Regions from separate parts of the Homo sapiens genome. Here regions 1, 2 and 3 are each linked to region 4. The links are contacts of gene promoters, found by promoter capture Hi-C in blood cells and fetal thymus (Javierre and others, 2016). All regions are on one chromosome and are shown on one strand. The core of a region is centred on a gene start or on the middle of the fragment in contact, and the rest is flanking DNA. Distances in the headings are between cores, read along the strand shown. Region 1 overlaps NBDY (negative regulator of P-body association). Region 2 overlaps HUWE1 (HECT, UBA and WWE domain containing E3 ubiquitin protein ligase 1). Region 3 overlaps NBDY (negative regulator of P-body association). Region 4 holds the start of MAGEH1 (MAGE family member H1).

Region 1 (7,182 bases), core at 2,497-4,996, 1.3 Mb after region 4:
CCTCACTGTTTGTTGTCTGTGCCTGGAAGAAGGCAAGTTTCCTTGCAGCCTGTAGTTCAGAAACACCTTCCACTGGATGTCACTGTGGCTCCACAAATGGCAGTCACCCCTTTTCTTTCCCCCACCTTGCCTTCCTCTCCCTCCTTTTGCTGGCAACCAAACAAAACAAAGACCAGAAAACAGAAACTGGGGCTGGGTGCGGTGGCTGACGCCTGTAATCCCAGCACTTTGGGAAGCCGAGGCAGGCAGATCACTTGAGGTCAGGAGCTCGAGACCAGCTTGACCAACATGGAGAAACCCTGTCTCTATTAAAAATAGAAAATTAGCTGGGCGTGGTGGCACATGCTTGTAATCCCAACTACGGGGAGGCTGAGGCAGGAGAATCGCTTGAACCCGGGAGACGGAGGTTGTGGTGAGCCGAGATTGCACCATTGCACTCCAGCCTGGGCAATAAGAGTGAAACTCTGTCTCAAAAAACAAACAAACAAACAAAACAAAATAAAAAAAACAAAGAAACAAACCGGCCAAAGAGCACCCACCTCATCTTCAGCATTGCTCCTCACCTACATGGTCACTTTGGGGAAACTTGCCTTCCTCCTTCCCTCTGGATTCTTCTTTGTGCAGGGGGTCCCAATGAACCAGCCTATCCTCAAGAAATCCCACCCTTGGGGCTGTGGCATGATGTGGGGAGGTTGCACTGGGGAAGGTGTGAGGGGCTACAGGGTGGCGGGTGTGTGGGTGTGTAGGTCTGCATTCCAGCCACTGCAGATTTCTCTATGAATCTGCATAGGCCTCCTAAGAAGGAGACTGGCGCGTGCCTAGAGAAAAAGCAGGAAGATAAGAATGCAGGAAGATCTGGACTGCATCCTTAGGGGTGGCATTGTGACTCTGATTGTCAGAGGTCTCCGTTTTTAACGTTTAACTCCCATCACATCTCAACTTTTTCCTGTCTTCACCTGTGCTTCCAAATGTCCTCAGGCACATATATGTGTCCCTACTCATACTCACTCACAAGCGTCTGCCCAGGCACCTCCACTCATACCTGGGTCCTGTTGTGCAGGCAACTCTCAGAGGGCAGGGTTCTTCAGCTTCCCGGTTCCATCTTGTTCATCTTCCTCATCCCTTGTTGTCTGGCTGCCCAATATTTGCTGGCGGAGGGTGCGGGATGTGTTGGGGGTGGAGACAGCAGGGAGCAGGGCAGCCTCCTGGCCCAACAGGCCTCTGTGCACATGCAGTGCAGACCTGGGCATAAGGGGCTGACACTTTCTCCTGGCTGGTTGGTGGCTCTTCCTCTGTGAAGCCACAGAAGGTCACTCGGGTTGCCACCTGTCCATCTGGGACATTCTGCATTCTTGTTCGCTGTCATCCTCATTGCTCACGTTGATTCTTAGTATACTTTTGGAGTTTTTCTTCCTTCACTTTTTTCTTCTTCACTGTCTTTACTTCTCGTCCACTTCTGGTTTGGGGAGGTCAGGATTCGCCTGGAAGGCAGGGTCCGGTTGGCAAGCGAACATATTTAGGGAGAACACGCCTTCTTTTCCTCAGGAAATTAGAAAGACCTCAGTTGACTCCTGCCAGATGTAATCGGGGTGCCCCTCTCCTTTCTGCCCTCTCTCCCTAGTGCCATAGGTGGCTGATTACCTCCTTTCCCTGGTGTCCTTTTCCTCTCCGTTTTTCCTCTCTCCTCCCATTTCTGGGGTCCTACCCTTCATTGGCCTTGTAGACTAGGGGCTCGTGGCCCCTTGCGGTTTGCAGATGACATCCAGAGGGTATGGTTTAGCCTGCATCTTTGTCCTCTGTAGCCCCTGCAGACCTATTTGTGGATCAAAGCTTTTGATCCGACTCACAAGGGATCCCATCAACAAGAAGCTTCTTGGTGGTGTGTCCTTTCACTGGGATGTCACTGTTGTCTCTTTGTCACTCGTTATGTATGTCACCACGCATTGAGGCACCCATGAACTCTATCCTTCAGGACAGCTGAGGTGGCATGAAGCTGCCATTTCTTGTTCTTTTTCTCCATCTGGTTCTTCTTCCTCTTCCTCCTCTTCCTCTTTCTTTCTCTTTTCTTTTCTTTTCTTTCTTTCTTTCCACCTCCTCCTCCTTTTTCTTCTTCTTTTCTTCCCTCCTCCTCCTCCTCCTCTCTCTTTTCCTTTCACTTTCAGATCTTGGCGAGACAAATGTTCTATGGAGACTGCTTCTTCTGCTCCTTGGTAATGGGGGATGTCCCTCTGCGTGCTAGGCAAGGAGAAAGCTTCACTTTTGTTCTGAAAGGAGCAGAGATGAAGGTCACATGTTCAGTTCCTCTGGTCCTCTAAAAAACCACCCATGTGTTACTTTTAAGTGAAATGTCATTCTGAATGCACTTCCTACCAGTACCTCACGATTCATCCTTCTACCTTGTTCTCCTTGAAGACGATCTAATAATGTAATCTTGGCCAGTAGGAGCCTCAGCAAGTTTTCCCCCATTTCCTCTCCTTCCAGTCAAGCCATGTGAACACAACTATCCGGATTTCAGTGTATACAGGCAGGCTGTCTCTGCCATGTGCCAGTTTACCCACTCTCACACAGGAAGGCACCCACAAACCATAGACACAGATACACATACACACACTCACTAGGGACCTCAGAAATGAAATCACAAACACACCCGCACACAGAGACACATGCAGACACACACAAACACACACATAGACACACAAACAAGAAACCTCACAGGGGCACAGGGGTGCAGGCCCAAGCATTCTCCCACACAGACACATACACACCACCACAGGCACGAGACTGCCTACAATTTCTCCCACACAGGTTCTAAATGTGCAAAGGGAACAGGAGACAGGGGAGAATTCCTGACTCCAGGCCTGGGCCATCATGCCATTGATTGATGGGCAACTCTCGCCTTCTCCTGAGAATCAATGTGGGAAGTCTGTTAACAGATAGGATCCAGCAGCTGGTGTAAAACTGGAGCATCCTGGGTCAAGCTGCTTAAAAAGGAACCTCACTTTGTGTTAGAGACAGAGAGAGTTCCCTTGGGAGCCTTGGCCCTGTGTGATGCCATAAGAATCTGTGGTGTGTGGTGGCATTCCCCAGCACCCCTGAGCCACCCTCCTCCCACCCCCATCTGTGTGAAACCCAGGACAGCCTGAGCAGAGTCAGACTTGAGCAAGTTGCTGAGTGTCCTCTCTGAGAGATACTCCTGCTTCAGGCCCTGTGGTTTCCAGTTGAGCAGTCCACCTATTTTGATGACCTCCATGTGTCAGCCCAAGGCGGTAAACTCTACCTGGAGCTCCAGGCTTTCGTAGGACCCCCAGTCCTGCAGCAGAACCTTGTGTAAGCCAGCTGGGTGACCAGCACCTTGTCCTGGGGCAGTAGCCCTATGATCCTAGTCCTCCTGTGGTGTCCCAGTAATGATCATGTTTTTTGTTGTTTACTTTCTGCACGGGCAAGAGCCATGAAACCTGCAGAGAGCCAAAGGAAGGGCAAAGGCTGGCTCCCTAAACAGGATTCCCACAGGATCTCCAGCCTACTGGTCCTGGTCCTTGGTCACACGGTCCCATGAGTTTGGTGATCAATCTGGGACCAGGTGACTGATTCCTTTCACTCCTCTGTCTTTTTTTTTGTTTCTCTTTCCTCTTTACCTTTTTTCACATGGGAAAAGGCGGAGGCCCTGGAGTTGAAGTGGCAGGGTTACAGTTGTAGTTGGCGTTTGTGGAGCCATACTGCCATCAAGCGGAAACTGTATCTAGAAACCGGAGGCAGCTGGGCACAAGTGCTGGGGAAACCCCACGAGCGCAAAAGAGATGGCGGCATGGAGCCCCCAGGCTGAAGCAGGACAAGAGAGGAACTCCAAGCTGGCCCTTGGCCTGTGCTCATTCCCAGGATGCCTCCCTGGTTCCACAGCTCTCTCCGAAAAAAAGGGCAGGTAGGGGCGACCCACCATGGGTTCCCCTGGTCATCTCCAGGTACTGCTGGTCCTGGGTTGCCACGTCTCCAGTATCCCGAAGCTCCTTTGTTCCCCGGGAGGATCGGGGCCCCCTTGCCAACACGTGGCTCCAGCCAAGGGAACCCCGGAACTCCCCACAAAAGACACCAGAGTAAACGGCCCCCGTCTCGGCCAGTGGCTTCGTTTATGTCCATCTCAACATGGCTGCCGGGCCAGCTCCGCCCTCTGGGCTGACTGGTCTTGGGGCTGCCTGGCTGTTCTGTCCTGGGGCCTCTAGAGTAGTTGCTTCTCCAAAGCGTCCCAATGCCAGGTACACTTCCTTCAAGGGCTCAGAACCCCGGTGGGGGAAACCCAGGCTTAGACATAGTCTAAGCACATCCTCGCTGATCTCTGTTCCTGGCAGAAGGCAGGTGTCCGTGCATCCTGTTGTGTTCAGAAACAACTTCCACTAGATGGCAATGTGGCTCCACAAACAGCAGTCTTGTCTTTCCCTTCCCCCATTTTCTTTCCCTCTTTCTGTTTTTGGTGCCAAAAACCAAAACAAACACCAAAAAAAAAAAAAAAAAAAAGAAACTGGCCTAGGAGCACCCATCTCACCTACAGCAGGGCTTCCCATCTATGTGGTCACTTTGGGGGAACCGGCAACAGTAGGATGGGGTAGGGGTGGGGGCCACAGGGAGCAGGGCAGCTTCCTGGCCCAACAGGCCTCTGTGCCCACGCGGTGCAGACCCGGGCTTGAGGGGCTGATGCTTTCTCCTGGCTGGTGGCTCTTCCTCTGTGAGGCCACAAGAGGCCACTCATAGTGCTGCCAGCTGTCCATCTGAGGCACTTTGCATTGCAGTTCGCTGTCAATCTCATTGCTCACTGATTCTTTGTGTACTTTTGGAGTTTTTCTCCCTTCACTTTTTTCTTCTTCATTCTCTTTACTTTTTCTCCACTTCTGCTCCAGGAGCAGACTGGAAGGCAGGGTCAGCTGGGCGCGGGGACACCGTTAGGGAAAACAGGCTTACTTTTCCTAAGGAAATTAGTAGGACTCTAGCTGACCCCTGCGAGGAGAAATTGGCGTTTCCCTCTCCTTTCTGCCCTGTCTCCATATTGCAGTGGGTGGCTGATTATCTCTTTTCCCTGGTGTCCAATTCCTCCCCGTTTTTCATCTTATTCTTTTTTGGGCGGTCCTTCCCTGCCTTGGCCTTGTAGCCTTGGGGCTTGGTAGCCCCTTGCAGTCAGCTGATGACATCTTCAGGGCAAGGTTCAGCCAGCACCTGTGTTCTCTGTAGCTTCTGCAGGCCTACTTGTGGATCAAAGCTTTTGATCTTACTCAGGAAATACCCCATCAACAAGACGCTTCCTGGTTGTGTGTCCTTTAAGCCGGATGTCAGAAGTGGCTCCGTGCCCCTCGTTGTATGTCACCACGCGTTGAGGCCCTCCTAAACTAGATCCTTCGGGACAGCTACAGTGGCATGGACCTCTCACTTCCTGTTCTCCTTCTGATTCTTCTTCCTCTTCCTCCTCCTACCCCTCTTCTTTAATTCTTCTCCTTCTCCTCCTTCTCCTCTTGCTCCTCCTCCTCCAACTCCTTCTTATCTTCCTACTCCTCCTTTTTCTTTTTCTTCTTTTTCCTCCTTCTACTCCTCCTCCCCCTCCCCCTGCACTTCCTTCTCCTTTGCCTCTTTTTCTTTTTTTGCTTTTGCTTCTGCTTCTGATTCTGCTTCTGTTTTTCCTTTCACTTGCGGATCTGGGTGGGCACGTGTTCTAGCAGACTGCTTCTTCTTTTGCTCCTTGGTGATGTGGGATGTCCCTCTGCAGAATTAGGCCTGGAGAAAGCTTCACATTCGTTCTTTAAGGAGCACAGATGAAGGTCATGAGTTTAGTCCCTCTGGTCCACCAAAAGGCTACCCACGTGTTACTTTTAAGTGAAATGTCATGGTGAACGCACCCTTTACCCAATACCTCATGGCTCATTGTTATTTCCCATTCTCCTTCTGGATGCTGTAAGTGTAATCCTGAGCCAGTAGGAGCCTTGGCAAGTTGTTTCCTAACTCCTTTTTTTCCAGTCAAGCCATGTGAACACATCAATCTGAATTTCAGTGTGTGCAGGCAGGGTGTCTCTGCCACGTGTTCATTTGCTCACATTTCAGTGTGTGCAGGCAGGGTGTCTCTGCCACGTGTTCATTTGCCCACTCTCACTCACACAGGGAGGCACACACAGACACACATGCAGGCACTTACAAGAGACCCCCAGAAGAAGAAATAAAATCACAAACACACACACAGAGATACATGCACACCCAGACAAAAACACGCTTACACATACCCACACAAACACACACATACACACACATAAAGTAAGCTCACAAAATCAAAGGGGTAGGGGCCCAAGCATTATGGGACACAAACACACATCGCCACAGGCATGCGACTGCCCACATTCTCTTCGACAGGGGTTCGAAATATGCAAAGGGGAAAGGGAGACAGAGGAGCATTCCTGCCTCCAGGCCTGAGTCATTATGCCATTTATTGGGCAACTAGGGCCTTCTCCTGAGAATGAATTCGGGAAGTCTGTTATCAGATAGGCTCAAGCAGCAGGCATGAAACTGGAGCATCCTGGGTCAAGCTGCTTAAAAAGGGCCCCCAAGCCTTGTCCCTGTGTGATGCCATGAGAAGCTGTGGTACTTGGTGGCCTTCCCCAGCCTCTCTGAGCCACCCTCCTCCCAACCCTACCTCTGTGAAAGCCGAGACAGCCTGAGCAGAGTCAGTCTTGAGTGAGTTGCTGAATGTCCCCGCTGAGGGAGACTCCTGCCTCAGGCCCTGTGGCTGCCTGTTGAGCTGTCTATCCGTTCTTCGGACCTCCATGTGCCATCCCAAGGTGGTAAACTCTAACTGCAACTCCAGGCTTTGGGAGGACCCCCAATTCTCCAGCAAAACCTTGTGTAAGCCAGCTGGGTGGCCACTGCCTTGTACTTGGGCGGCAGCCCTGTGATCCCAGTCCTTCTGCCGTTTTCCAGTAGCCATGATTATACGTCCTTTCTCTTTTACTTTCTACACCAGCGAAAGCGATGAAACCTGGAGAGGTCCAAAGGAAAGTCAAAGGCTTGCTGCCTCCACAGCGTTCCGACAAGGTCTCCAGCCTACTGATCCTTGATCCTAGGGTCCCCTTAAGAGGTGAAAGTCTGATGGCAGCCCTGGCAGCCCTCGCTCGCTCTCGGCGCCCCCTCGGCATTGGCGTCCACTCTGGCCGCCCT
Region 2 (6,745 bases), core at 3,888-6,387, 1.8 Mb before region 4:
AAGACATGGAACTGAAGTCAGGTATCAAATCAGACTTTGCCACAGAAAAAGGAATCCATGACTAGTTATTTTAGGATAGTGCCTATGACAGCACTATCAACTCCAACTAGGATACAGGAGATTATAGCCATTGTTCCATTATAATGGGTCCTCCAGGGTCTTTAATTGAGCAAGAATGGGTTAGACACCACTACTGGGCTGTAATCCCCAAATATGGGGGGCGGGAAACTATATATAGGACAATTTCTTCAACAAATAAATTGGAAGAAAAAAAAAACAAAAGACAGAACCTGCAGATTAAAATAGATTTAACAGCTGTATCAATGCTTTGCAATAAATGTGCTTTCTCAGGATCCTGATTCAAACAAACTGTAAAAGAAAAAAAACAAAGCTTAAAAAAAAATCAGAAATCTGAACATTTTATATTTGATATTTTTAAATATCTGTTAATTTTTTCAGTTGTGATAATAGTTTTGATCTTATATTTAAAGAGCCCTTGCCTTTTAGAAATACAAACAAGTATTTTACAAATAAATATGACAGGGATTTATTCCAATATAATCCATTGAGGGGGGCAGTGGTTAGAAGTATAGATGAAACAGGCTGGGCCTGGTGGCTCACGCCTGTAATCCCAACACTTTGGGAGGCCAAGAAGGGAGGATGGCTTGAGCCCAGGAGTTTGTGACCAGTCTAGGCAACACGATGAAACCCCATCTCAATTTAAAAAAATTAAAAAAAACCAAACAAACAGAAGTATAGATGAAATAGAATGTGCAAGTTGATACTATTAAAGCTGGTGATGGGTAAGTGGGGGGATTATTATACTATTCAATGTTTGCATGTTTGAAATTTTTCGTAACTTTAATAAGAACTGGTTAGACATAATGACTTGCAATTTTATTTTTTGAACGATGCCTAGGGTGATTTAAAAAATCATGTACAGACATCATTCATTTAAACAATTCCCTTTAATTCAGTAATGAGCTCCACTTTAAAAAAAGAAGCAACCAGTACCACATCAGATCCAGAGAATGGAAGAAACCAAAGTAGCTCCATTACAGAATGGGAATACATCCACCCCTACTATCTCCATTCCAGGAAGTAAAATACAAATACTTCCCACAAGATTTACAAAAACTAACCTAAAATCACAGCCAATCATACTCATCCTGGTGGGAAATTCCCCACACTGCTCCAACAGCTTCCCGAACCTTCCTGACCAAGTTGGCCTGCTGGTTTCTCTGGATCACTAACCCACTCAGGTCAGGCTGCTGGAGGACCTACAAAAAAAAAGTTGGGGGAGAGGAGTGAGATACACAACACATTTATTAGGGTGTGTGAGGAGGGTTAACCATTCTATTATGTTCAAACATAACTAGTTATTATTTCTAAAGCAATAGTCCTTACATATCTATTTGCATTTTTTAGGACCTGCTTTGAGAAGTAACTGAGGAATTCAGAACCAACAACTCTAATACTTCTAACGCTTAGACAACATTCCTGAAAACTGAGTTCTCAACCCAAATGAAATTATAGAAGACAGTTTATTTTTTAGACAAGTTTATACCCTCAATATAAACACTAAGGACGTATTTGTTTCATTGTTTCTGTGAAAAAAAACAACAACTGTACATATAAAAATTATTCTTCACCTTCATACATGCTTTTTGGCCATATTGGGAGACAAACGATAAACATCCTGGCAACTCAGGTTGAACTTTGCCATTGAACCTTAGACAAAGTTTTTATTTGGTATTGTCACTCCTTCCTCTCTTCTCAGAGATCTACCTAGAATAAGTTAAACTTTTAGGTCACACCTAGATTATCATTCCCAGATTTATTCTATTGCTCAATAAGGGTCAAATTGAAATTGAGGTTTAATAAATTTGTGATCACTGCTTAACCCACGGTAAAATGCACCAATGCAAAATCTCAAAACAGAAAGTGATTTCCTGCCCTCCAATGAAAATGGAAGAAAATTTTATTACCTACAAAGCACTTCAAATTAAATAAAGCAGTTTATTTCGAACTGAAGTTCGAAACTAGAGTCCACATACAGCTAATTGTGGGATGGTTACCTCCTGTAAATTTTAAATCCTAGTAAACTTTTCACCACGTTTCTACTTCAATTCCCATCACCCAGCCGAAGTAAAATAATGGGGATAGTTGTGCTTGTATTAAAGGGTTGTTGCTAGAATTAGTTAAAAAAAAAATTGTAAAATGCTACACTTTAATATTGGTCTAATCAATATATTAACAGTAAGGAAGCCTGTAATCTCAGCACTTTGGGAGGCCGAGGCGGGCGGATCACGAGGTCAGGAGATCGAGACCATCCTGGCCAACGTGGTGAAACTCCGTCTTTACTAAAAATACAAAAATTAGCTGGGCATGGTGGCGCGCGCCTGTAGTCCCAGCTACTCGGGAGGCTGAGGCAGGTAAATCGCTTGAACCCAGGAGGCGGAGGTTGCAGTGAGCCGAGATCGCGCCACTGCACTCCAGCCTGGCGAGAGCAAGACTCCATCTTAAAAAAAAAAAAAAAAAAGTAAGGAAAACTTTCTCCAAGTCAAATAGTCACATCTGTTTAATAAGTACGTTAGAAAATATAAAATGGCAATAACACAACAGGAAGTAGTGTATTAAAGAGCCAGCAGTAATTTGCTATGGAAAAGAAGCTGGGTATTCCAAATGATCTTTCTCTCTCGGACAGGAATTATCTTGCTCAGGTAAGAAGATGCCAAATAGCAGATCCCCACACTGATCTGAGGAACCAAACAAATGAGGGAGGTGAAAAGTAGCATGAATACTTCAAAACTAGCTAACAGAAGTTCCTTTTACCACTGTGAAATGCATGACACCAAATTACTTTTGTAGAGTGAATGACAGGACAGACTGCCTTTGAAGGAGTGGAAGAAATGAGTAGGCAGGGCATGAGGCACCCCTTCCAAAAGGTAGAACACTTGGGTGTGGTTCTTGACAGGAACATTATGGCTGGTGGTCATTCCAGGATAGTGATTACGCACTGAAATTCCTAGACCATTAGAAGGAAACAAAGAGTGGGAATCACGTTCAAACATCATGAACCACTGGAGATAAAAAGTTTGGCCTATGAGGAAAAAAAATATAAACGTTATAGATCTGGCCTAGAAATACACCAAGAATGTACAGTTAAAGAAACAAAAATCTCTTACTCTTTCCCAGGTCATAAAATTAGCATATGACACAGGTACATCTACCAATGCATTCTTACACCAAAAAGTAATCCTAATTTATTATGTGCCTACCATGAGCTAAACATTTTATTTTATTTTATTTTAACTAATTCTAGCAACAATCCTCTAATGTAAGCACAACTATTCCCATTATATAGATGAACTGAGAATCTGAAAATTTGCCCAAGGTCACAAGGTTCAATGTGAACCCAAAACACACCCAAAACACACACTATTAATTTCACCATACCAGACCGCCGCCTATGACTGGGGAATGTTGGTATCTCCTCAATCTATGCAACACTGGGGCTAAAAGAAAACAATGCTGAACATGTAATCTACAAAGGAGAAACAAATGATAGGGAATTAACTGCCTATAGTAACGGTGGCATGGGGGGAAGAGGAAATAAAGAACAGGGCAGACTGGGGGGCAGGACAATCAATGCTGTTTTCTAGTAAATGGAAGGGGTAAAATGTAGTGGAGCCTGAGAGGAGGGTTATCTTCCTTCTAAGGGATTCAGCTCCTGGAAAAGGAGTATGGGGAGTGGGGGATAGAAAGATTAAGAAGTGAGAAGCAGGTAAGAGGTGCTCAGCAGCAAAAATAGATGTCCACAGACCAAGAGGCTCCAGAAACTCAGAGCAAGGCAGGGAAAAGGGGCGGTTCCCAGGCTTGCAGGGGAAATGGAAGAGGCAGGGAAGACAGAAAGCGGGTTTACTGGAGAGTTATCCTCTACAGCCTTCTGAGGGGGAGGAATGAGGAAGGCAAGGCTAATGGCCGTAAACGAAAAGGCCACTTAAACTGCAATATCCAAACACCGACCCGTTCATAGTTTCGCTTAATAGTGGTTTAGCAGCATGCAGAGCTAAGAAATCCGGATCAGAGTCATACAAACATGAAGACTTGAGGAAATGGAAGGCTACTATGGCACCATCCACAAAGATGGAGTAAATGCAGGCAACAGGATAAGCTCTATTCAACGCCTGCGCCAAGGGGACCAATGGAAGGGGGAGACAGAGCGGGCTAGAGGACTTAGGCTAAACTCGAATTTAGAACTGGGGAAGGAGTCACAGGGAAAAGCTTTGACTCCCCCCTCCCTTAAATACCAGCCTCAACTATCCACGTAGATGAAGATTAGATGGGACGACAGAATTAGGAGGGGTGTGGGGAGAGGAGGAGGAGTACACCAGTGACACTACTGCTTGAACCCTAAGCCTTAGCTCTAAAACCGCGAGAGTTGGCGAAGATGACCCCACCTCGAGAAAAACCAGGGTATTCATCCGGGTCGTCGGAGGTGCTGAGAACGGAGGTTGGCCGGCAGAAAAGGTAGGGGAAAGGGGCCACTCTTCATTGGTTGCTCCTCTTTCCCACCGTTCAATTTAACCCCCAACCCCACTCCCCAGCGAACTCCAGACTCCCCTCCCACCCTTCCCAATCCGCCCACTGCGGCGGCGACAACGGAGGCGTTGACCGATCGGTGGGGCAAAGGCGGGCCCACACGCGGCCGAGGCCCAGGAAATGGTGTCGCCTCAACGGACAAGAAACGAGGTGGTCTTCGCCTCAGGTCTAGTTTACCGGCACCCCGGCGTTTCGCCAATCGTCACCTCCTTAACGCTGGGCACCTCAGAGGCGTCATAAAGGCAGATAGCCAACACCTCTGTGCTGGGTCCTGGCCGGACAGACATCAGCCTCCGCCGCCATCTTAACAGCAGGCGGACCGACCCTAGTCACTGCCCCCCCACCCCCCACCCGCGAGCTACCTCAGCCACCGCCAACGAATCCCACGAGGACGTAACCCTGCTCCCGCGAGAATTCTCCGGCTTAGAACGGCACGAGCCGAAGACCTTGCCGCCGCCTCCGCGGCTACTGCAGTCAGTAACCGAGCCACCGCCGCCTCCGCGCGATCCCGCGAGAACCTCTACCGGACGGGAAAAGCCTGAGCCCAGCCCTTTCCAGACCCCTCCTCCCTCCCACCAAAGCCGAAGTAGCTACAGCTTCACCCTACGCGAAGCGAAAAGCAAATGACGCACAACCTAACGAAGCAGTGAGGGGCGGAGCCAACCTACCACGGCCGGCTCCCGCATGCGTTGAGAACTATCGCGATATTACGCTTTAGCCTCGGCGAGACCTTCTTAATTCACCGCAGGATGCCGCCCGCGCCTCGCCTTTAGGAAACATGAGATATCGCGAGACCTGGTGCACACTCCTAAAAAGGAGAAAGGCGGAGCTTCATGAAAATGACTGGGAGTTTTTCGGGGGAAGGGAGGAACCCTCCCGTCCTGCAGGGATCTCGCCTACCACGAGGTTTCCGACCCACTGCGGAGCTGGCTGCCAAACCTCGCGATGACACAGCTCAGCGCCAAATCTCGGCCATGTCCTGAAAACTGCCTCCGCCCCCGATCTAGGTGTCTAGAGCCTAGTGCTTGAGGAAAATTTAAAAAGTCAACCTGTTTATTCTCACGCTTCCGGGCAAGGCTGTACCAATTAGCCAAACTCCATTCTGGAAGCGGAGCAAAGAGTCCCCCATTGTTACCTGTCTCCAGGAATAACATATTATCCTGGACTAACATTTAAAAGACGTTCAATCTCACAGTAAGCACACAAATGCAAATGAAAACAATGACATAACATTTTTTGCCCATTAGATAGGGAAAAAAATTTTTAAACCTACATTATCCAGACTCCTTCCCTCGCCGCACTGCAGGCTAACCTGAATCCATCTTAATCTAACTAAAGGCCATATCATTAGTTCTAGTTCCAAAGCCACCAATTTTAACTACTGAAGCTTTACCTTGGCATAACCAAAAAGATCCAATAAAGTGGTTTTCTCCAAACAAAGGAGTCTGCCCTCAAAGGAATATTCAAGCTTCGGGGATGGGGGGAAATGCCTGAAGCTTTTAATATGGCAGTTTTTCCACGTCTAGCCAACAGTGTTTCTCCAATAAATCTTGGGATCCAATCTGGCTTGATTTGTGGGCTTTTCCATTCTAATGCATTGTTCTGTCCGTTCTAATTTAAATAGTTCCTTTAGAGTACATTTTAATAGCCAGTAGTACAAATATCCCTATCTTTACTTACGTTTTAAAATATTTTTTTTCAGTTATTCTTAGCCATTTTTTTCCCCCGGATGAACTTTAGAATCATAGTAAGTTCCAAAAAAACTTGGTATATTTATTGAAATTGCATCAACTGTATAAACCAATATAGGAAAAATGGACATCACTAAAATATTGAGCCTTCTTATTCAGAAGCATAGTATTCCTTCTCTTTTCATGCAGATGTTCTTTTATGGTATTCGTCAATAAAGTTTTATAGTTTACTTCTAGGTATTTTTATTCGTTTCTCTTGCTATTGCGAACAGGTTTTTTATTATTAAAATTTCAAAATGCTTATTGCTTATAGATAGGAAAACTGCCTATATAAACTATTGATATTTGCCTATTTACAAACAAAAATATGATCAATTTCGCCAGTAATCAGGGAAATGCAAATGAAAACAATGACATACGATTTTTTTGCCCTTTAAATTGGCTAAAAT
Region 3 (7,011 bases), core at 120-2,619, 1.3 Mb after region 4:
ATGTGTAAACCTGAGTCAGTAGGAGCCTCAGCAATTTGTTACATTGTTCCCCTATTGCCTTTCCTTCCAGTCAGGCCAGGTGAACAAAACGATACGGATTTCAGTGTGTACAGTCAGGCTGTCTCTGCCATGTGCCAATTTGCCCACTCTCACTCACACAAGCAGGAACTCACAGACCACAGACACAGAACACATGCACACACTCACAAGAAACCCCACAACCAGAAATGAAATTACAAAACCCATACACACATGGAGATACATGCAGATGCAGACACAAACACACATGCAGACACACACACGCAGGCACACTGACACATAAAGTCACACATACACAACCAGACCAATAAACAGGTAACCTCACATGGGCACAGGGGTTGGGGCTCAAGCATTCTCACACTTAGAGGTAAACAAACACACAAAGCCACAGGCATGAGACTGCCCACACTGTCTCATACGGGCTCTTAATCTCTGACAAGCAATGGGCTATGGGCAAGCATTCCTGGCTTCAGGCCTGGGTCCTCATGCCATTGATTGGGCAACTTGGCTTTCTCCCAAAAATGAATGCGGGCAATCTTTTATCAGAAAGGCCACAGCAGCAGATGTGAAACTGGAGCATCCTGGGTCAACCCGCTTAAAAACAGACTCCCCTTTCAGATAGAGGCAGAGAGAGTCCTGTTGGGATCCTTAGCCCTTTGTGATGTCATGGGAATCTGTGGCAACGTGGTGGCCTTTTTGAGTCCCCCTAAGCCACATCCTCCCACCCCTGCCTGTGTGAAAGCCAGGACAGCCTGTGCAGAGTCAGACTTGCACGAGTTGCTGAGTGTGCTTTCTAAGGGATACACCTGCCTCAGGTCCTGTGGCTCCCTGTTGAGCAGTCTGCCCGTTCTGGTGACCTCCATCTGCCAGCCCAAGGCGGTAAACTACCTAGAGCCTTTGGGAGGACTCCTAGTCCTGCAGTAAAACCTTGTGTAAGCCAGCTGAGTGACCAGCACCTTGTCTTGGAACGGCAGCCCTTTAATCCCAAGCCTCTTGTGTCCCAGTGCCCATGATTATCTGTCATTTGTCTTTTACTTTCTGCAGGAGCAGGAGACATGAAACCTGGAGAAGGCCAAAGAAGGGCAAAGACTGGCTGCCTAAACAGTATTCCTGCAGGGTCTCCAGCCTACTGGTCCTTGGTCATTGGGACCTGTGAGTTTTGGTGGTCAACCTGGGACCAGTTGGCTCGTTCCTTTCTCTCCCTCCTGTCTTTTTCTCGTTCTCCTTCCTATTTGCTTTTTTCACATTGGAAAAGGTGGAGGCCCTCAGGGTGGAGGAGCAGGGTTACAACTGTACTTGGCGTTTGTGGAGCCATAGTGCCATCAAGTGGAAATTGTTTCTGGAAATGGGAGGCACCTGAGCTCATGTGCTGAGGAACGCTCGGGAGTGCCAGACAGATGGTGGTGTGGAGCCCCCAGGCTGAAGCTGGGAGAGGAACTCCTGTCTGGCCCATGGTCTATGCTCATTCCCAGGATAGCGCCCTGGCTCCACAGCTCTCTTTGTAAGAATGGACAGGCAGGGGCGGCCCACCATGGGTTCCCCTGGCAGCCCCCAGAGACTGCTTGGCATGAGTTGCCCCACCCCAGCATCCCAAAACTTCTTTGTTCCCAGGGAGGATAGGGTGCCCCTGTCCCTGCGTGGCCCCAGCCAAGGGCACCCCTGAACTCTCCACAAAAGAGACCAGAGCAAATGGCCCCAGTCTCGGCAGTCAGTGAACAGTGGTTTCTCTTAAACCCATTTCAAGATGGGGAAGCTCCGCCCACTGGGCTGACTGGTCTTGGGGCTGCCAGACTGTTCTGTCCCCGGGCCTCTAGCTTAGCTGCTTCTTCATGGAGTTCCAATGGCAGGTACACTTCCTTAAGGGCTCTGAACCCCAGTGGGGGAAACCCTGGCTTGGGCCTAGTCTACCCAGCCTGGCACATCCTCGCTGATATCTGTGACTGGAAGAAGGCAAGTGTCCTTGTAGTCTGTTGTCAAGAAACACCTTCCGCCGGATGGCACTGTGACTCCACAAATGGCAATCACCCCTTTTCCTTCCTCCACTTTGCCTTTCTCTCCTTCCTTTTGCTGCCAACCAAACAAAACAAACACACACAAAAAAAACAAAGAAACAAAGAAACTGCCCAAGCAGCACCCACCTCATCTTCAACAGGGCTCCCCACCTATGTGGTTACTTTGGGGAAACTTGCAACAGTAGGAGTGATGTCTGCCTCTCCTACCCTCTGGATTCTTCTCTGGGCAGGGGGTCCCAGTAATCCAGAGGAGCCTATCCTCAAGAAATGCTATGCTTTTGCTGTGGATTTGTAGCACCGGGGGCAGTGTGAGGGGGTAAAGGGGGAGGGGTGTGTGGGTGTTTAGGCCTGTGTGTGGGCCGCTGCAGATTCTTCTATGAATCTGCACAGGTCTCCTCAGAAGGAGACTGGTGCCTGCCTAGGGAAAACATAGGAAGAAAAGAATGCAGGAAGATCTGGACTGTGTCCTTAGGGGTGGCAAGGTGACTTTGAGTGTCAGAAATCCTCATTTGTAATATTTAACTCCCATCTCATCTAACTTTTTTCCTGTCTTCATCTGTGCTTCTATATGTTCTCAGGCACATACATGCATCCCCACCAATACTCACTAAAAGGTGTCTGCCCAGGCACCTGTGCTCACACTCAGATCCCCACATCTAGGTAACTCTCAATGGGAAGGGTTCTTCAGCTTCCCGGTTTTCTCTTATTCATTTTTGTTCTCCCTTTCTGTCTGGCTTCCCAGTATTTGCTGGTGGAGTGTGTGGGATGGTGTGGGGGTGGGGGCAGTGTGGAGCAGCGCAGTCTCTTGGCTCCACTGGCCTCTGTGTGGACCCAGTACAAACCCTGGCCTAAGGGTCTGATGCTTTTCTCTGGTAGGTGACTCTTCTTGTACGAAGGCACAAGAGGCCATTTGGGCAGCCACCTTTCCACCTGGGATATCCTGCATTTCAGTTCACTCTCAACCTCATTGCTCACCCTGATTCTTTGTGTACTTTTGGAGTTTTTCTTCCTTCACTTTTTTCTTCTTCACTCTTTACTTTTCATCAATTTCTGGTTTAGGGAGTTCAGGATCAGCCTGCAAAAGCAGGGTCGGGTGGGCACAGGAATGTCCTTAGGGAGAGTAAGCCTACTTTTCCTAAGGAAATCAGAAGGACCCGGGCTGAACCCTGGGGGTGTAAGCAGCATCCCCCTCCCCTATCTGCCTTCTGTCAGTGTTGCCATAGGTGGCTCATTACCTCCTTTCTCTGGTATCCATTTCCTCCCCGTTTTACATCTCTCCTCCCACCCATTTCCGGGGTACTTCCCTACCCAGGCCTTGTAGATTAGAAGCCCGTGGCCCCTTGCAGTGCGCTGATGACATCTGGAGGGCATGGCTCAGCCTGCACCTCTGTCCTCTGTAGCTTCTCTAGGCCTACTTGTAGATCAAAGCCCTTGATACCACTCGGAAAAGAACCCATCAACAAGAAGCTTCTTGGTGTTGTGTCCTTTCACCGGGACATCACAGGTTTCTCTTTGCCTCTTGTTGTGTATGCCACCATGCAGTGAGGCACCCCTGAACTAGGTCCTTCAGGACAGCTGCTGTGGCGTGAAGCTGCCACTTCTTGTTCTTATTGTCTTTCTGGTTCTTCTTCCTCTTCCTCCTCCTCCTCTTTTTTCTTTTTCTTTTTCTTCTACTCCTTCTCCTTCTCCTTCTCATTTTTCTCTTCTTTCTTCTCTTTTTCCTTTCACTTTTGGCTCTTGGCGGGTCAAGCATTATACTGAGACTGCTTCTTCCTCTGCTCCTGGTGATGCAGGATGCCCCTTTGCAGAACAAAAGTGAGAAAGGCCTCATTTGTTCTTAAAGGAGCAGATATGAAGGTCACCAGTTCAGTCCCTCTGGTGTTCCACAAAGGCGCCAATGTGTTACTTTTCATGAAATGTCACCATGAACCCACCCCTTAACCTGTTCCTCATGGCTCACCATTCTTTCCCATTCTCTTTGTGGATGCTCTAAATGTGTAATCCTGAGCCAGCAGGAGCCTTGGCAAGTTGTCCCCCTTTGTCTTTTCTTTCAATCCAGCCATGTGAACACAACGATCCAGATTTCAGTGTGTATAGGCAGGCTGTCTCTCCCACGTGCCCATTTGCCCACTCTCACTCACACAGGCAGGCACCCAGAGACCACAGACACAGACACAACCACATGGACTCACAGGGAAACCCCGACAACCACAAATATAATCACAAACACACATGCACAGGGAGATACACACACAGACACAAAGACATACACTAACACATGCACACTCACAAACTCATAGACACACACACACACACACACACACACACACACACACACAAATCCTCACACAGGCCCAGGGGTGCGGGCTCAAGCATTCACCCACACAGACGCACACACACATGTGTCGCCATAGCCACCAGACTGCCCACGAACTCTCCCATAAAGGCTCTCAGTCGGCCACAGGCAATGGGCTATGGGTGAGGATTCCTGGCTCCAGGCCTGGGTCATTATGCTGTTGATTGGGCACCTAAGGCCTTCTCCTGAGAATGAATGCGGGAAGTCTGTTATCAGATAAGCCCCAGCAGCCAGTGTGAAACTGGAGCCTCCTGGGTCAACCTGCTTAAAAAGGGACCACACCTTGGGTAGAGGCAGACAGTCCCCTTGGGACCCTTGGCCCTCTGTGATGCCATGGGAATCTGTGTTGCGTGGTGGCCTTCCCCAGTTCCCCTAAGCCACCCTCATGTCACCCCTCCCCCCCACCCCATGTGAAAGCCAGGACAGCCTGCACAGAGTCAGACTTCAGTCAGTTGCTGAGTATCCCCTCTGAGGGAGATTCCTGCCACACGCCCTGTGACTGCCTGTTGAGCTGTTCGCTCATTTTGGTGACCTCCATGTGCCAGCCCAAGGTGGTAAACTCTATCTGGAGCTCCAGGCTTTGGGAGAACCACCAGTCCTGCAGCAAAACCTTGGGTAATTCAGCTGGGTGACCAGCACCTTGTCCTGGGGCGGCAGCCCCATGATCCCAGTCTTCCTGTGGTTTCCCAGTGGCCATGATTATGTATCATTTGTCTTCTATTTTTCTGCATGAGCATGAGCCATGAAACCTGGAGAGGGCCAAAGGAAAAGCAAAGGCTGGCGGCATAAAGAGGATTTCCGCAGTGTCTCCTGCCTACTGGTCCTAGGTCGTAGGGTCCCTTAAGTTTGGTGGTCAACCTGAGACCAGGTGGCTGGCTCCTTTTTATCCTCCCTGTCTTTTTTTTGTTTCTCTTTCCCTTTTCTTTTTTTCACATTGGAAAGGGTGGAGGCCGTCGGATTGGAGGGGCAGGGTTAAGCTTGTAGTTGGCCTTTGTAGAGCCATAGTGCCATCGAGCGGAATCTGTTTCTGGAAACTGGAGGCAGCTGGGCATGAGTGCTGGAGAAATCCCAGGAGCACGAAAGAGATGGTGGCGGTGTGGGGCCCCCAGGCTGAAGCTGGACGAGAGAGGAACTCCTGGCTGGCCCTTTGCCCTTGCTCATTACCAGGATGGCACCCGGGCTCCACAGCCCTCTCCGAAAAAAGGGCAGGAAGGGGCGGCCCTCCATGGGTTCCCCTGGCCATCTCCAGGAATTGCCGGGCAGGAGTCGTCCCGCCCACAGCACCCCACAGCTCCTTGGTTCACTGGGAGGATAGGGGACCTCTGGCCCCAGCGTGATTCCAGGCAAGGGCACCCCAGAACTCCCCACAAAAGAGACCAGTGTAAACGACCCCAGTCTCGGCCGTCAGTAGTCAGTGGCTTCCCTTAAGCCCACCTCAAGATGGCTGCCAGGGCACCTCCGCACTCTGGACTGACTGGTCTTGGGGCTGCCTGGCTGCTCTGTCCCTGGGCCTCTAGATTAGCTGCTTCTCCGTGGGGTCCAAATGGCAGGCACACTTCCTTCAAAGGTTTAAAACCGCGATGGGGGAAACTCTGGCTTAGTCAGAGTCCACCCAGCCCGACATATTCTCGCTGAAGTCTGTGCCTGTCAGAAGGCAAGTATCCCTGCAGCCGGTCGTGTTCAGAAACAACTGCCGCTGGATGGCAGTGTGGCTCCAGAAATGGCAGTCACTTATTTCCCTTGCTTTTCTCTTTCTCCTTTTGCTTCCAACAAAACAAAACAAAACAAAAAGAAAAGAAAGAAAGAAAGAAACCGGCCAAGGAGCGCTCACCTCATCTACAGCAGGACTCCCCACCTACATGGTCTCTTTGGGGAAACCTGCAACATGCGAAAGGCTCTCTGCCTCCCTCCTTCCCTCTGGATTCCTCTCTGGGCAGGGGTCCCAGTGAGCCAGAGGAGCCTATCCTCAAGAAATCCCACCCTTGGGGCTGTGGCATGGTGGGGATAGGTCGCACTGGGGGCAATGTGAAGGGGTATGGGGGAGGGGTGTGTGAGTGCATGGGCCTGCTTGTAGGCCACTGCTGATTACTTCTCTGAATTTGCACAAGCCTCCTAAGGAGACCAGGCTGCCTGCTTGTGAGCACTACGCTTGTAAATAGGGAACACACTGTTTCTTGGGGAAGGGACAAAAGCTTGGATCAAAAGCACCCAGGTCCAACAGGCATCCATAGATTGTTGACCCTTCTAGCAGAAGAAGGTCGGGCCAGGTGTCTGTCAGGATGAGACTCGACAGATTGGACACCTGTCCCAGGCCTTCAGCTACTTTTCTCACTGGAGCCCAGGCACTCATCCATGCCCAAGAGTAGGAGGGGTATTCTGGGTGGCTTCCACAGGCGGCTCTCCTAGAGAAAGCCACTTGGCATAGCTGATGGAGCATGTGTGCTCACTGAATGTGATGGCTCACCAGTTAATTCCCCGGGCATCTTAGTCATTCTGCCAAATACATGGGTAGCCAGGCCCCAGCCATGCTCACTTTCGCCTGGGCCTCCTCTGTGTTCCTGTGCTGGGCATGGAAGTGAAGGTTGAGGCTGGCGTGTCTTTGCA
Region 4 (7,503 bases), core at 2,222-4,721:
TCATCATCACTGGTTATCAGAGAAATGCAAATCAAAACCACAATGAGATACCATCTCACACCAGTTAGAATGGCAATCATTAAAAAGTCAGGAAACAACAGATGCTGGAGAGGATGTGGAGAAATAAGAAAGCTTTTACACTGCTGGTGGGAGTGTAAATTAGTTCAACCATTGTGGAAGACAGTGTGGCAATTCCTCAAGGATCTAGAACTAGAAATACCATTTGACCCAGTGATCCCATTACTGGGTGTATACCCAAAGGATTATAAATCATTCTACTATAAAGACACATGCACACATATGTTTATTGTGGCACTGTTCACAATAGCAAGGACTTGGAACCAACCCAACTGTCTATCAATGATAGACTGGGTTAAGAAAATGTGACACATATACACCATGGAATACTATACAGCCATAAAAAAGGATGATTTCATGTCGTTTGTAGGGACATGGATGAAGCTAGAAACCAACATTCTGAGCAAACTATCACAAGGACAGAAAACCAAACACTGTATGTTCTCCCTCATAGGTGGGAATTGAACAATGAGAACACTTGGACACAGGGAGGGGAACATCACACCCTGGGGCCTGTCGTGGGGTGGAGGGTAGGGGGAGGGATAGCATTAGGAGAAATACCCAATGTAAATGACGAGTTAATGGGTGCAGCAAATCAACATGGCACATGTATACCTATGTAACAAAGTTGCACGTTGTGCACATGTACCCTAGAACTTAAAGTATAATAATAATAGAAAAAGAAAATTAAATAAGTTGGAAATACAGTACGCCCAGCCAACAGGCAGACACTTGAAGAGATTATGGTAAATCCATTGCAAGGAATAACATTCAGCCACTAGAATGAAAGAATTAGAGGTATAAATTGAGGAGATTTCATTATTAATTAGGAAAAAGGTTTGCCTGGAAATTCAATATGGAATGGTTTGATTTTTATAAATGAAACAAAGTGGAAAGCCATGTGTTCTATCTAAACATATACATGCCAACACATCAGCAACCCTACTCGTTGATGTTGATCCTAGAGAAATGCATGCACATGTTCATAGGGAACATGCGCACAAATATTAATAAGAGTATTATTTTGTTTTGGAAAAATGGGAACTGCATAGGCGTGGATCATTAGGAACAGGATAAATTGAAAATGATGAAATGTACAAAATTAAAATAAATGAACTAGAGTTCCATGTATTTACATGGGTAAACATAAAAAATATAAAGTTGAGCTGGAAAACCAAAGTGTTGATCAATGTATACATTATGAAGACGTGCTTTAAATAAAGGAAGAGATTCTATATTGTGTACAGACACAGAAGTAGGTAGCAAATATATACAAGTCTCCATGGGCATAATTGCTGACTTCATTATAGAGGAGCACAGTGGGGAAGGAGAGAGCAGAGTGGGTCAGGGAAGACGTAATAGGAGGGTTTTGCCATATCCAATATATAAAAGATAAACAGTAAGTAGGGCCTAATATTTAAATTTTATACAGCTAGCTATTGGTGTTTATAATATTAATCTCTCTTCTTTGCCCTACGTTTGAGATTAAGTCGCAGTAAAAAAAAATTCATGCTAAAAACAAGCAAATAAACTGCAAAAGTAATCCTCCCATTTTTGTTTCATGAGGGTAGGATTGTACATGCTATAGACTTCCATGCAAGACCCAAATTCCTGGAAACAGTAAAATAAGTTCATACCTGTACTGAAAAACAATTCAGAGCAATTATCAATGGACCAGAAACTGCGAGAATTCTCAGAATGTGGGACAGCAGATGGAGCCAGACTACTGTTTTGAGTAGGTCATGTCCCAGAACGCGTGCAAAGGTTATCCCAAACGGAGGGCTGGCTCAAGAGTGCTCTGTGTCCTGGAGAGGTGCTTTCTTTGCTTGACCAAATTGATTTATTGCTAACTTACCCAACAGGAGGTCTCGGTGGGCTCTAATTATAAAGAAAATTTCAGCAAGACAGGCATAAAGTATTCATTTGTTTCTTAAGAGTTCAGTTAAGAACACCTATAAAATCTTTTCCATCATGAATTCCTTCAGCACGCATTTATTAAATGCCACACTCACACACCGCTTGGAAAACCTTGAGAGGCAAAATCTGTGCTTACCATGTAATAAATGCTTTTCATTTTTTATCTCATTTAATTCTCACAACCCTATGAGGGCTGTACTTTAGCCCCACTTTATAGATGGGAAAACAGGCTTAGAGAGAAGTGACTTGCTTAAACTAATACCTTGAATGACATAAGAAAGATATAGAGTGCTAGTTATAGGGCTTTCCTCAATGGAGTAAAAATGGACTCATTACCCTTTTGGGCAGATCAAGACAAGCTTCAGGGAGAAACAGGTCTGTGAGCAGTCAAATGGAATTTAGATAGTTGGAGAAGGCTGAGAAGACAGGTCAGGCAGAGCAAACAGTGAGCAAAAGCAAGCAGTGGATAAAGTTCAGAGTATGCTCTGAAAGAAGCAAAATAAATCAGGAGTCCAGGAAGACTGGAGCCTAGAAACCTTGGAGCCAATCTGAACTCCATCATCCCCTCCACATTCCCCACTTCATCCATTCTGTCTGCAAAGCCCTTCAACGGTCACCTTTAAAATGTCTTTCTGCCTCTCCATCCCCATGGCAACAGCCTTAAGGCATACTTTAGTTCCCAGTGCTTCTTATTCCAATTGCTTCCTATGTGGTCTGCCAGGAAACAGTTTGCTTTTCTGAGAGGCTGCACAAATGCAATTCCTCTGATCCTGTCACTGCCCTGCTTTCATACATACATACATACATATATGTGTGGTAGATATATGCACTGTATATAAACATAATGTGGTAGATATATGCACGATATAGGTATGTATGTATGTATGTATAAAAGCAGGGCAGTATATATATCGTGCATATATCTACCACATTTTAAAGGCTCTGCACCTCTTTCACCCTGCTTGTTTCTGCAGTCCCATCTCCTCACATCATCCAGCACATCTGCCATAACAATATTATCCGGGTCCTACATGGGACCACAAATTGATTAGTATACACACAAATGCCTTCTGAAAACAGGGCGAGTGAATGAACGCGCTGTGTAAGCCAAGACAGGAAAGGAAGGCTGGAGACAGCTGACTCCTTCCAAGAATACACCCTCCCGCCACCCCTGGCCTCCCAACCCCCAACACACACACAGCCCGTCGTCAGTGGGAATGGAGCCGACGCACTCCTTCCCTAGACCGTCGAGCCAATCTTGGAATGTTTGTAGTAGGCTGAAAATACAGAAACTTTAAGCTATTTTTTTCTCTTCTGCAAACTCCAGGCCCCTCCAATCTCTAGCTGTCATTTCTGCCCTTGTCCCACCCCTGTCGCTGCCTGCCCCTTTTCCTATCTGCTAGCGGAAGTCCCTGTGGAGGACCAGCCTACTTCCTCTTTGGTGCTAGGAGTGTGCGTGGCAGGAGAGGCGGGGCCAATTTTGCTGAGCTTTCTCGCGGGCTTGCAGCTGCGGCAAGTGCTGGCGGCGGCTGCTCGCGCAAGTCAGCTGGCGTGGGAACTACCCTTTGTAGCTGAGAACGGCTTGTTTATTGCTACAAAGACTCTATTGACATTGGTAGCTTCAGCGGCAGCAGCTTCTTACGGTATAAAGCTGTTGCTTCCTGAAGAGGCTACAAGCATCCTTCCCTAGGACTGCTGTAAGCTTTGAGCCTCTAGCAGGAGACATGCCTCGGGGACGAAAGAGTCGGCGCCGCCGTAATGCGAGAGCCGCAGAAGAGAACCGCAACAATCGCAAAATCCAGGCCTCAGAGGCCTCCGAGACCCCTATGGCCGCCTCTGTGGTAGCGAGCACCCCCGAAGACGACCTGAGCGGCCCCGAGGAAGACCCGAGCACTCCAGAGGAGGCCTCTACCACCCCTGAAGAAGCCTCGAGCACTGCCCAAGCACAAAAGCCTTCAGTGCCCCGGAGCAATTTTCAGGGCACCAAGAAAAGTCTCCTGATGTCTATATTAGCGCTCATCTTCATCATGGGCAACAGCGCCAAGGAAGCTCTGGTCTGGAAAGTGCTGGGGAAGTTAGGAATGCAGCCTGGACGTCAGCACAGCATCTTTGGAGATCCGAAGAAGATCGTCACAGAAGAGTTTGTGCGCAGAGGGTACCTGATTTATAAACCGGTGCCCCGTAGCAGTCCGGTGGAGTATGAGTTCTTCTGGGGGCCCCGAGCACACGTGGAATCGAGCAAACTGAAAGTCATGCATTTTGTGGCAAGGGTTCGTAACCGATGCTCTAAAGACTGGCCTTGTAATTATGACTGGGATTCGGACGATGATGCAGAGGTTGAGGCTATCCTCAATTCAGGTGCTAGGGGTTATTCCGCCCCTTAAGTAGATCTGAGGCAGACCCTTGGGGGTGTAAAAGAGAGTCACAGGTACCCCAAGGAGTAGATGCCAGGGTCCTAAGTTGAAAATGATGTCGATTGGGGGCGGGGGACACTGTATTTGATATTTGTGATCAGTGATCATTGTTCAACTGCGAAATAGAGTGTTTGCTTTTGATAATGGAAAATTGTATTCGTTTTAAAATTCCGTTTGTTGAGAATAACAATATGTTTAAAAATATAATTGAACAAATTTTTTTCTTTGTTTCCTGTCATTGACATTTAGTATAACAGTTTTGCTAACGTTCTAAAATGAAGTCGTTCCATCATAATCTATGATCTTGTACAGCACTTATAGAAATAAGCTGTTCTTTTGAAGTTGAAATACCCAGTAAAATGTTGAAGAAGGATGGAGGATTTCTTCATATCTGACGTTTCTGAAACCCTTTGTGTCTGCTGTTGTGTGAAGATTGACATTTACCATGATTTTCCTTAGTTACTGCAGAACATAGAGAAAAATAAAAGCCTAACGAATAGTACATCTTGCGCATTTTCTGACCACCTGTTATGTGAGGCACCAGTCTAGATTCTAGGGATACTCCCTAGTACACATCCTCCAGGTCCAAAGAATGTTCTAGATTATGTGGGAAAGAAAAATAGGTAAACTGGCAGTGCAGTAAATGCTGGGATAGAGAACGAGCCTGAAGTGCCATGAAAATGTAAAAAACCTTATGTGACCTGTCTTGGGGAGTGGGCCGGGGAAGGGAGCACCATAGGATGTGTGAAAATTCAAGAGACACTTAAATAAGTTTGGGGGGGACTGAAATATACGATCAGAATATATGATGAAAATATTATGTATTAGATATTTGATTGGATACTCCACCCAGCATAGGGGAGGGAGCACTGGCAAAAAGAAGAGGACATCACAGGGTGCCTGCCACGGAAGTAGAAAATACACAAAAATCATCTTGAGAGGAGGAGGGCAGAGAGAAGGGGTGGTTGCAGGGGAAAAGGTTGTCATGGGGTACTTCAGAAATAAAAAAAGATGAGACCGTCAGAAAATCTTGGTGAGGGGACAATCTGAGGTTTGGAAATAATAGAGAAGAAGGGGAGGGAGTAAAAATGGAGGCACTGAAGGTAGCGTGGACATTTGGAAATAAACTCTTCACCGAACTGTTAAGGTTATATGAAGGGGAAAGTGGAGAACAAGGAATGAGGCAAGGGAAGAAGTGAGCGGGGCAGACCCTCAAAGGGTGGGTGTTGTGGCTGACTTTAAACTAATGACAATAAAAATGGTTAATAATAACAACCCTGAAATAATTCGAGAAAAGGCTATAAAAAAGCAGAACTTCTGAGATACTGGATGAGCCAGAGAAAAGGCTCCACCTGTGGCATCTCCGAAAGGTAACCTTGCACTTCTCTCAGGAACTATGGTTCGTTAGGGTGCACACATTGTTTAAAAGTGTGTGTGTCCAAGGGGGCAAAGGGGCAATGGAGTAAGTCCGGATTGGTACCTGGCACGATGGCCCATGCTATACTAAGTCATGTGGGATCAGGCGCAAATCCTACCACCTTTTCTCCAAGAGCTAAGCACTGCATGAACTAGGTCCCCTGCTGGGGAGCACTAGTGACAAGTGCCCAACCTAGCCCTGTGGGGCTCATGGTAGCAGCTATAACACACAAAAGAGTGGTCAGGCTACCTTCTTCCTTCTTGACATCCAGGCTCACGCTGCTTCCAGCTGTGTGCAAAGTAACGTCACTAGGTGCAGGGTAGGCTAGCAAATGACCTTCTGGAGAAGGCCCAGGGACCCACTCTCCTCAGCTTGCAGGCCAAGGAGGCTTCAAACAAAAGTAGTAACTATGACCCCATCAGCAGCTCCAAATTCATTCAGCAAGCCAGAAAATGGTGAGCGCCTTCTGGGATTCAGACAGTGTGTTAGAAACTGGAGCTGCAGAAAATCAAAAGGCCTGTTCTTTGCCCTGGGAGGAGCTGTATTTATCAATACCACCTCCAGAGGTAAACAAGGTGGGAATCTGAGGTCCAGGTTCCTCGGTGACTTTCTCTTCTAGAGCCACAGAAGTGGCAAGAGAGAGATCCTAGACAAGACCCTATGTCCATTCCCTGCAAACCCACAGTGCTTTCCTCTAGGCCACCCTGCTGCCGGTCTCTGCCTGCTAGTGCACTCTCAAGGTCTCTGTCCTCAAAAGAAACACCACGTGAAGGCAGGGGAAGAGGTGTGAGTAACCCTGGCCGCGGCATCCAATCCTTCTGGGGACCAGGCCGGATTACATTCCTCCCCCGACCCGCCCTTTTACCCAAGGGGGCTTACAGCAGTCAGTCAGCCCCAGGTCAGTCAGCTAGTAAGTGGGAGAGCTGCAGAGTAAAAAGATTTGTTGAGCACCTGCCTGTCCCAGAGGCATGCCACATATTATCTCTGCCAGGCCGGTGTGATTACTGCCCATTTAACAGGATGCTCCTCCGGCTAGCTCAGGGGAAGAGGTAATGTCTTCCCCAACCCTGTCTGAATCCATGCTTTCTTCGGCTCTGGTGGCAAGTTATCATCCAATGGTCTAAAATGGTTCTTTGCAAGTACGGGCCAAGAAGCTTAATTCAGTCAGAGAACCAGCAGTATAAGAGGAGAAAGACTGGGAGAATACCTCCAGCTGCCCTGTCAGAGAGATGACTGCTGGAATCCTGAAGGCCTCAGGCAGGAGGCTCTGCAGGGGATTGGGAAACAAGGGATTGGGTGACAGGTGACCTGCCCTAGCGCAAGAAGGAAGCGATCAATGGGCCAGGCTTATTCTCTTGTGGCCTGGGGGTTCAGTCTCCCTAACACACTACAGGAGTACTGCAAAGAGTTAAACTTCCTTTGATTAGATAAAGGCTGAAGAAGGGCGGGACTTCCGGTGGCTGTGAAATGAAAGACAGGGGTGAGGGAGAGGCAGGGAAAGGGGCTTCTGGAAGGTGGAGAGAAAAAGAAAACATTCACCGTGCCATTTACAAAAATTCTTTGAGCTTTGCGGGGCATCCAGATGAGACATCCAGGTGCAAGCCTCTTGCTGAGTAAATCTGAAACCTAAACTGGCCCCACCCCAGCGGAGGTTCCACAAAGCAAGTGGGAAAGCTG

Evidence for each region. The method cuts DNA at HindIII sites, captures the fragments that hold promoters and counts their contacts. A CHiCAGO score of 5 or more calls a contact.
Region 1: a contact is called between a fragment that was not itself captured here and the fragment with the promoter of MAGEH1 in region 4, in 1 of 17 cell types (fetal thymus). The highest score is 9.9, in fetal thymus.
Region 2: a contact is called between a fragment that was not itself captured here and the fragment with the promoter of MAGEH1 in region 4, in 1 of 17 cell types (fetal thymus). The highest score is 7.4, in fetal thymus.
Region 3: a contact is called between a fragment that was not itself captured here and the fragment with the promoter of MAGEH1 in region 4, in 1 of 17 cell types (fetal thymus). The highest score is 6.3, in fetal thymus.

Annotation. Positions count from the first base shown.
Region 1 is chrX:56,760,214-56,767,395 of GRCh38, forward strand. All of the region lies in intron 2 of NBDY (negative regulator of P-body association), which reads left to right. Among named protein-coding and RNA genes, the nearest start is that of NBDY, 35 kb to the left of the region's middle. RefSeq lists enhancers at 1-98, 3,394-3,443, 3,464-3,583, 3,547-4,048, 4,044-4,403 and 1 more. The HindIII fragment of the contact is 2,994 bases long and covers 2,250-5,243 here.
Region 2 is chrX:53,678,907-53,685,651 of GRCh38, forward strand. HUWE1 (HECT, UBA and WWE domain containing E3 ubiquitin protein ligase 1) reads right to left here. Exons shown (of 84, transcript NM_031407.7): 3 at 1,143-1,280. Among named protein-coding and RNA genes, the nearest start is that of HUWE1, 4.4 kb to the right of the region's middle. The HindIII fragment of the contact is 1,705 bases long and covers 4,286-5,990 here.
Region 3 is chrX:56,797,627-56,804,637 of GRCh38, forward strand. All of the region lies in intron 2 of NBDY (negative regulator of P-body association), which reads left to right. Among named protein-coding and RNA genes, the nearest start is that of NBDY, 72 kb to the left of the region's middle. RefSeq lists enhancers at 3,248-3,317, 5,817-5,956. The HindIII fragment of the contact is 4,293 bases long and covers 1-3,516 here.
Region 4 is chrX:55,448,656-55,456,158 of GRCh38, forward strand. It overlaps MAGEH1 (MAGE family member H1), which reads left to right and starts at 3,472. Exons shown (of 1, transcript NM_014061.5): 1 at 3,472-4,911. The coding sequence starts at 3,720. The coding sequence ends at 4,379. MIR4536-2 (microRNA 4536-2) reads left to right here and starts at 2,840; the gene lies at 2,840-2,927. MIR4536-1 (microRNA 4536-1) reads right to left here and starts at 2,927; the gene lies at 2,840-2,927. RefSeq lists enhancers at 3,685-3,734, 3,885-3,934. The HindIII fragment of the contact is 1,343 bases long and covers 2,353-3,695 here.